Regions from separate parts of the Homo sapiens genome. Here region 2 is linked to region 1. The links are contacts of gene promoters, found by promoter capture Hi-C in human tissues and cell types (Jung and others, 2019). All regions are on one chromosome and are shown on one strand. Each heading gives the region's core, a stretch centred on a gene start or on the middle of the fragment in contact. The rest is flanking DNA. Distances are from core to core; before and after follow the strand shown.

Region 1 (4,183 bases), core at 469-2,968:
CAAGCAGCTGGGACTACAGGTGTGCACCACCAAGCCCAGCTGATTTTTTTTTTTGAAAGAAGGGGTCTCACTATGTTGCCCAGGCTAGTCTTGAATTCCTGACCTCAAGTGATCCTTCTGCCCCGGAATCCCAAAGTGCTGGGATTACGGGCATGAGCCACAGTGTGGGACTGATACATTTTTGAAAAAAGGAAACAACATATATTCATGAAGGAAATACACACCCTCCTGGTGAGTTTATGTATGATTTTTGTTTTGTTGTTTTCTGTGTTATCTGATCACAAATTACTTTCATTTTCAGGAAGAAAAAAATTTAATTTTTTTTTTTATTGGGGCAACATCCAACCCAGATATGATTACTACCTAGCCTGAACTGAATGTATTACTAATAAACAAAGAAATGCAGAATGGCATACAGTCGGTAAAGCGTAGTGCTTGAGAGCATGGATTATGGAGACTATTTAAATACTGGCTCCATAACTTAATAGCTTGGGACCCACGGTGTTACTTAGCTTCTATCTGCTTTAATTTACTCATCTGTAAACTTGGGATAAGATACTTCCTCATAAGGTTGGTGTGAAGACCAAGTGAATTAACTATCGTTTAAAGCACTTACAAAAGTGCCGGGCACCACCGAGATATGCATCCGTTAGCTTTTATTATTATTAGACTCAAAACACTGTAGTAGTTCTAATGAGAGGGGTAAGAATCAAAAATCCAGGCACCTGCATAGAGCCAGAGAGGCACACATAGAAGCAACGTAAGAGTGGAAGCGGAATGAAAACATGCTAAAGCCAGGTACAAGCCACAAGCGAGGGTCCACAGGAAGAAATTGTTAATTCTGAAGAGAGTGAATGCACGAAGTTACAGGAAAAATAACATCTGAACAGAGTTTAAGAATGAGCAGGACTTCAACAAGTGGCTAGTAAGACATAAGGAACCTACAAAAGATCTTAGCAAAGGCGCAAAGATTACCATCGTATTGCTCGTTTCTTCCTACTTTGCAGAAGTAACCTCTGGCGAACAGAGGTGGTTGCAGAGCATGCTTATCAAGCAAAATACCACGAAGCAGTAAGGAACGACAGAGATAACAGTAACAATAATAATTCACCCCAAGGTACTCAACTGGAAAAAGGAAATACAGAGGAGAGGTGTCGTTAAGAAAGCCAGGACGCACATCACGGCCCCGTCGCTGCACTACTCTCGTCTAGGGGTCAACAGTGGAGTCGAGACTCGAAGCTTCCACGCGGCGGAACAGCGTCCCTCTCAGGCGGCGAACGGGCTAGGGAAGCGCCCGGAGGAGACCTAGCGTGAGAACTACAACTCCCGCGGAGCCCGAGGGCGAGCTGCCTGCGTAACTTCCGCTTCCGCCACCTGCCCCTCTCACCCTCTTCACTCGAACCCTACCCGGGAGCGGTCAGGCGCGTGACCCCGCGTGACCGGGGTGCGCGAGCCGAGAGGCCCTGGAAGCGGGACTCTGGGACCCCATTGAAAGAAAGGCAACCAGAAAAGGCGAAACGACAACCTCGATAGTGATTGGAGCTGATGGAACGAGGGCGGAGCTAAAGTCCCAGAATACTGGCCAATCAGAGTTTAAGATTATCAGGGAGCCCGGGAAGGGGAAAGGGGCGAAATGGTTCTATGGTCACATGCCGCGGGGTCTGGTGGGAGGAGCGGTTGCCCAGCGGCCTCTTGGCGCTTCCTGTTTCCGGTTCCCAGAGTGGGGCACAGCGAGGCGCTAGGGGGAACGCTGGCCTCTGAAACTAGCTCTGGGACCGGGGTCTGCGGCCGGCCCCTAGCTGGCCCCGTCTCCCATCCCCAGAAGGGTATTCACTGGGGATTCTGAGCTTTGGCTACTCCAGTTTCCCACGACACGTGAGTGTGAGGGGCGTGGAGGAGGAGGCGGGCTGGGTTGCGCTCACACTTAAGCGTCTGTGACAGGAGCCGGAATCGCATTCTCCCTTGACCATGGTTCTAGCCAAAGATCTGGCTGAGGAGCCCTAAGGGTAGAATGGAGGCGGAGGCATGAGAGCGGAGAGTCACGGAGTTCCGAAAGGTGTGAGGGAGAAAGGACTTCCAAGACCAGAGAGGGGATTTACGATATTTAGAAAGCAGGGAAAGGAAAATACCCCAAGTATGGAGTCCGTTGGAGGTGTTGGTGGATTTATTTGTAGGAGGAATTTTGGCCTGCATCACGGTGGGAGGTCAAGTGGCATCATTTGGAGAGGGTATGGCTACAAGCGCTTGGAAAGTCGGGACACTAGACAGAGCGAGAATTTCTGGCACCCTGGGAGAGCTTTGAGGGGGATGCGACTGTGGTGTGGATAAGAATGGCTGATGGACGGATTATCTTGTGTTCCTCGTTGTGGGGAGCTTCCGCTCTTGGGACATAGCCGCTACTTGTCTGAGGCTCCTTCTCTCTTGAGTTCTTTCAGCATTAGGCCTTTTAGCCAATTGAGGCTGCTTTTCTAAACATGTAGGCTGCTGGAGAAAAAGGGATAAGGACTGCTACATCAGAAAGGAGCCAGCGGGAAGACAGTAGAAATTCCACTGGTAAATGGCCATGGCTGTCTTAACAGATGGGGAAGTGAGTGCTACAGAGGCCCAGTGGTGTAAGCTGCTTCCCAGTTGCTGGCTTAGTCATTGGCCACCCTAATAAAGGATAATTTTTAGCATTGCCAAATAAAATAGATCTGTCGTTAGAGAATAAGAAAACTGAAAGATTTTTCAAGATCATAAAATCCTGCTCCTTATTTCCAAAGTATATAGACAAACTCTTGTACCTTGAGAATCTAATTGTAGCATATTAAAAGGGGGCTACTGGGCCCTTCCATTTCATTCTCTTCCTGATTGTTGCACCCCTATGTTTATAAGTTTTCCAGCAGTTATCTTTATGCCACGAATCGTCTAAATTGCCCCAGTAACTTCACACACATTTAATATCTGTGTAATGTACAGCAAGTAATTTAACAAGTAATTCTGTAAAGCATCAGTTTTCTCATCTGTGAAGTATGAAAAATTATACCTATTTTCTGGGTTGTGAAGATGAATGAACATAATCTAGGGAAAACATTTAGCGCATATGCCACTGAATTAAAGAGAAGCAGCTTAAATTTAAAGACAAGCCTTAAGCAGGAAAGAAGAATACAGTATAAATTTATTATCCTAACTTTTTGAATAATAAGCAAATGAAAGATAGTTCAACTCAGCTAATGGCTGAGGTGTTTAACCTTTCATCCCTTCCTAATTTTGTGAGATTCCTTGTTCTAATTTAGGAAAAGAAATCAACTGTCAGTTTTTAATTAGGTCCTGAGAGACTGGAAAGGAAAATGGCAGGCTAAGTCAGTCTAGAAGAAGGAGTCTCCTATTTCTTTTTAGTGAGTCAGCTGGTCAAGTTGTGTGTTGAGCAGTGGGTTAACTTAGGGAAGGTGGGAGTTGGAGGTCTGAGTTCTTTATTTCACCTCCTATTCAGTCAACTGTGTGAGGAATCACTTCCCCTTCACTTCTTAGTAGAAAAAAAAAAAAACCCACAGTTTTGGCTGTCTACTCTCATCTCCAAAAAATTGTTATGCACATAGTGGAAATATACATGTAGTTGTTCAACACAGACCATGAGCTCTGGAGCTAGACTCTCTGGCTCACTCCACTAGCTGTGTCTCAGTTTTCTTACTGGTAAAATAGCAACAATAATTGTATTTACTCATAAGGTTGTGAGGATTAATTAGTTAATTAATATATGTTAAGTGCTTTGAACAGCACCTGGCCCAAGGCAGTAGTCTGTTGTTTCCTGCTGTTGTGTGGTTTCAGTGCATTAAATGTGTTATGAGGGCCTTGGACCTCTTGGTTAGCTATGATTATTCTATGGAAACTACCATAATATTACAGTAGAGAATTGATGTTTGGGGTACAGGAAGTCAGGTAGACAATTTCCCGGGATTTTTTGCTTTAGTGGGGTGTGGGAAGTGGAAGGTCAGATGTTAGGTTGTTTAGGGGAATGGGGAAAGTGCATTCACGGCCAAGGTTGGAGCTTCCATTTTCCCATCTTCAAACTCATTAGTACCCATGAAAATTCTGCCTGTTTCAAGTTTTATATTTTAAAAATGAGGTGGAGTAAGTGGACCCGCATGAAAAAGAACTAGAGAACTTTAAAGAATATTCAAACCAAAGTCCAGACTTGCAGCGT
Region 2 (4,183 bases), core at 599-3,098, 310 kb before region 1:
TTGGGTCCTAAGGTGGTGGGATGGGAAGAAGAAGTGTCCCTCTCTTTAAGAAAAAATATACTTCATTTTATTTAATGACAGCTATGTAAATGATTGTTTTGACTTTGTCTTTGACATTTCGGAAACTCAGTGAAAAACTTAAGTACTCTAGTGTAATAACCATTTCATTGCAGCTTCCTAATAAAATTAACTCCTATGTTTAACCCTGCTTCAGAATTCCACATTCATTTGGCTTTCGTCTTACTGTTTCAAATTATTTTGACTCTGCTGTTTCTCTGTATTTTCATGAAAGCTGCCCTCAAATCTTTTATAGATACAGGAAGGGTACAATTTTTAAAGAATAATTTTATGCTACAAAGATCAAACTTAGAACATTTATGAAAATAATCAAGTGGAATGTTACATAAGCTCTATGTAGTTCACACAGAGGACAACCACTGAGATGAACACACAGAATTCTATTATAAAAATCAAAGGCTCACAAGGCTTTTTATGTGATTTGTATCTGTATCCCTGCTGTATTATAAATGGCCTGAAGGAAAAGACTGTTGCATTGTTTATATTGCCCTTACACACACAAGAATTATAACCAAACATGTCTAGAAGTTCTCTTTCTTCTCTCTTGACTCCTTTCTCAATAATATTTTTCAATTTAGAAATAGAGACAAGCATTAAATGTCTTTTTCCTACTTAAACAGAGGAAATGAACAATTAAACCTATATCTTTAAGGGAAAATGTCATTAGCTCAGCATATATTTATTGAACACTACTACCTGCACAGTGGTATAAAGTCTTTTCTTACTTCAGTGTGATCCAAATGTAAATAAAGTCTATAGTTGGAAATGCCTTTTTAAAAAATCAAATTGATAATTCTGTTGCTAATGTGTTATTCTGAACTTGTTCTTCTTTTTAAATTCTCCAGTGAAAGGGGTGTTTTCCTTCTCCTTTCGAGTGGAATCAGACTCTGCTCCTAGTGCTCATCTGCTTGTTTACACTGTTTTACCTAATGGAGAAATTGTTGCAGACACTGACAAGCTTGAGATTGAAAACTGTTTTGCCAACAAGGTGGGTTGTTTTGTTTAAGACTAGTCCTTTTATTCTTCTCCCATTGTGATGTGTGGAAAAGAAGGAAATTAGGAAATTAGGCATACAGTGCTCCTAAAACATTCCTCCCAGCTACTTCTAAAGGCAGGGGGTGATGTCATACTGAGAGGTCTAGTGCTGACATCCAAAACAGGCAACCACAAACACAGTTTTTTAAAAGTCTCTTGTTTTGTTATAAAATTCATATGAATTTCAAAATCAAGTCACCTATAAGCCTTTAATAGTTTTAATTTTAAAATGTTTTGTTACTAATATTTTGATTAAAAATGATGCCTCACAAGGCTGTGCCAATTTTACCCCATCATACACTGGCACACTTCCATGTACCACTACAGACAGCAGTAGGTTGTCATGAGTTTAAACTCAGCTTAATAATACAGAACAGATGAGAAACAGCCTGGACACTTTAAAAATAATGATAGCACAAAAATTTAACATAGGTTCAGATGGCATATTTTTTATTTAAGGAATACAAAGCTGCCATGTGAAGCTCACTGAGATATAAGTATGCTTTATTCCAACAGAACTTGGTGCTGTTTATCTGATTTTCACTACTCTAGCAGCATAATCATAACATTAGCGATCAGATAAGAGCCGCCTACTTCAGATGCCTGTTTTCAAATACACCTGGAAGGATTTTTTTTTTAACATGGGCTTTGTGGAGATTAAAACAAAATGTGTTTATAGCAAGTGAACATTTCTGCCCTGAGATCTATATTTAGGTTGTCTTGTTTTAAATATACAGTGAAATAAGAAAAATACACAGTGTATTCTGATGTAAACCTTTAATTCCACCTTACTAAAGAGTGCTATTAAACCTGGATGGTGTGTCCAAGAAGCTTAGTGTCTGTTCTGTTTGGACTTCTGTGTGTTTCATACCCACTGAGAAGAGACTCCTTCATGCTTCAATACCTTTACTGTTAATGATGGGTAGTTAGTTTGTTGTTAAATCTTGGGAATGGCCAAGTTATGCTCCGGCTTTCAGCACATCTTATTCGTTCTAGCAGTGGGGTCTCTTTCTGGTGGGTCAGTATCCTCTTCACACCCTAGAAATGAGAGAAGCATTATAAAACAGAATTGGCAGAAAAGTAATTTTCTCCCTGGAATCCAGTCTGAAAAACAATTCTGATTTTGCAAAACATATGACAGTCCCTGTGCAACAGTATAAAACTTCACCATAGAAGTAAAAGCCCACGGACATTATATTCAATCACTTCACGTTAAATACCTTTAAAATCATCATTGATCAGAATTGAAGATCAGCTGTAAAAAATAATATGAACAAAGATTCATAAGAAGATTCAGAAGAAAGTTGACTACCACAAAAATTAGAAAAACAGTAGATCTATTAAAATTACAAATTAAGCACCCTAAAAGTTAGACATCTTGGTGGGATGATGAGCAAATAAATAGTGCACTGAGGATGTGAGGAAAGACCCCAAGTCAGACATGCATCCCTGCAAAACGATACATTTAAATTTTTTTCAATCTTTGCTGAGACAGAGAAAAATAGTTTTCTATTCAAACTTCATATACTTATTTCTTCACTTACAACAGATTTGGCATACACATTAAAAATTATGTAATAGTTGGAATCATTTGTTATACTCAACCAGATATAATTATTCATTAAGAATAACATTGGTAGTAATTAATATAATATATGAGGTACAGACTCCTTTGAAATATGCCTTAAAGTTATGTTTTGGTTTTCATATCAGTAAAACATTTTCTATTTTCTAACATGTCCACTTCTTGCTAATAGTGTTTTTAGTTTATTATAATCCCAAATTACCTGTTCTTTTGACATGGACAGTAACTAACATATTTTAATGAACTTAAATTTTCTAAAAATAAAAGCAAATATATTTTAAAGAGATTCTCCATAAGCAATGTTTTCATAGTATATTGAGTTAGAAAGATGAATACTATTGCATCTTGAAGATAAATAATTATTGATTTTTTTCATATATGTCTTATGATAAGTGATTCCAAACTGCTATATTAAATTCAGTAGACCATAAAGCTGGATTGTCATAGTGAAATTTAGCAACCTAAGTCAGATGTTATTTAGCTAAACATACTGATATTTCATTCCAATAAAAATCAGTTTTCAGTCCAAGAATCAAGGAAGTTACCTGATGCTACTACTATATAACTCAGATACTACTCAAGAAATGTCGGTATCAACAGAAGGAACTAATAGATTATCTTGCCAATTAATTTTTTTGGCCAAAGTAGAAGCAAATCTTTGGGAAGATTCTGCACAATTTCCTGTTGTTCTTTATTCACCATTTTTTAAATTGTCTGAACCAATGAACTCTTAGGCTGTATATTAGATATTTATTTTTTTTAAATGGACCAGTAAATCTCCAATCATGATGAACAGTTCCACACTGCTTTAGAATTTCAGGTGACTGAGACTGCCAACTGGAGGAGACTTCTGTTGGCTGGTCTCAGGGGTGGAATGTGATTTTCACATCACCGTGCAAACTGCACACAGTCTTCACATAAACACTGCACAGAGATAGGTCAGTGATAGCAAGGTATGCATCTTTCTTGTACGTGTGTTTTCAATTCTATGCAGCATTTTATTTCTATATGATTAAGTCAATTTATATTTCATCATTTATATAAGGAATGGAAAACCTGAGTTAACTGGAATCAAATTTCCAGGTTGTTCCAGAGACACTGAATTGGTAGTTCCTAGGCTGTTCATCTCTTAATCCTGCTGTAAGATGAATAAAGAGAAAGGAAGTATAGAAAAGGCTACTCTTAGCCTGGAGTAGAAGAAGGGCCGGTTACTGTAATAATTATAAAATGGCTGCTTTAATCATATCCTCTTTACAGGTAAATTTGAGATTCTCCTCAGCTCAGAGCCTGCCAGCCTCAAACACCCGCCTGAAGGTGAGAGCCACCCCCCTCTCCCTTTGTGCCCTCCGTGCTGTAGACCAGAGTGTGCTGCTAATGAAGCCTGAAGCTGAGCTCTCACCTAAATCTGTGAGTCACGTTCCAACCTTGGAGATCATGAAATGCTCACGTGATAAGATCATTTTTGGAAGTTAAAAGTTCCAAAAA

The links. The method cuts DNA at HindIII sites, captures the fragments that hold promoters and counts their contacts. A contact is called where the count stands out against the background at its distance.
Region 2: a contact is called between a fragment that was not itself captured here and the fragment with the promoter of M6PR in region 1, in 1 of the 25 tissues and cell types used here (lymphoblastoid cells).

What each region holds. Positions count from the first base shown.
Region 1 is chr12:8,947,180-8,951,362 of GRCh38, reverse strand. It overlaps M6PR (mannose-6-phosphate receptor, cation dependent), which reads left to right and starts at 1,718. Exons shown (of 7, transcript NM_002355.4): 1 at 1,718-1,875. It also overlaps a transcript of KLRG1 not described here. RefSeq lists enhancers at 1,016-1,145, 644-1,548, 1,549-2,454 and a silencer at 1,124-1,338. The HindIII fragment of the contact is 13,158 bases long and covers 1-4,183 here.
Region 2 is chr12:9,253,527-9,257,709 of GRCh38, reverse strand. LINC00987 (long intergenic non-protein coding RNA 987) reads right to left here. Exons shown (of 7, transcript NR_137434.2): 5 at 2,018-2,151. It also overlaps the pseudogene A2MP1. Among named protein-coding and RNA genes, the nearest start is that of LINC00987, 16 kb to the right of the region's middle. The HindIII fragment of the contact is 4,482 bases long and covers 1-4,089 here.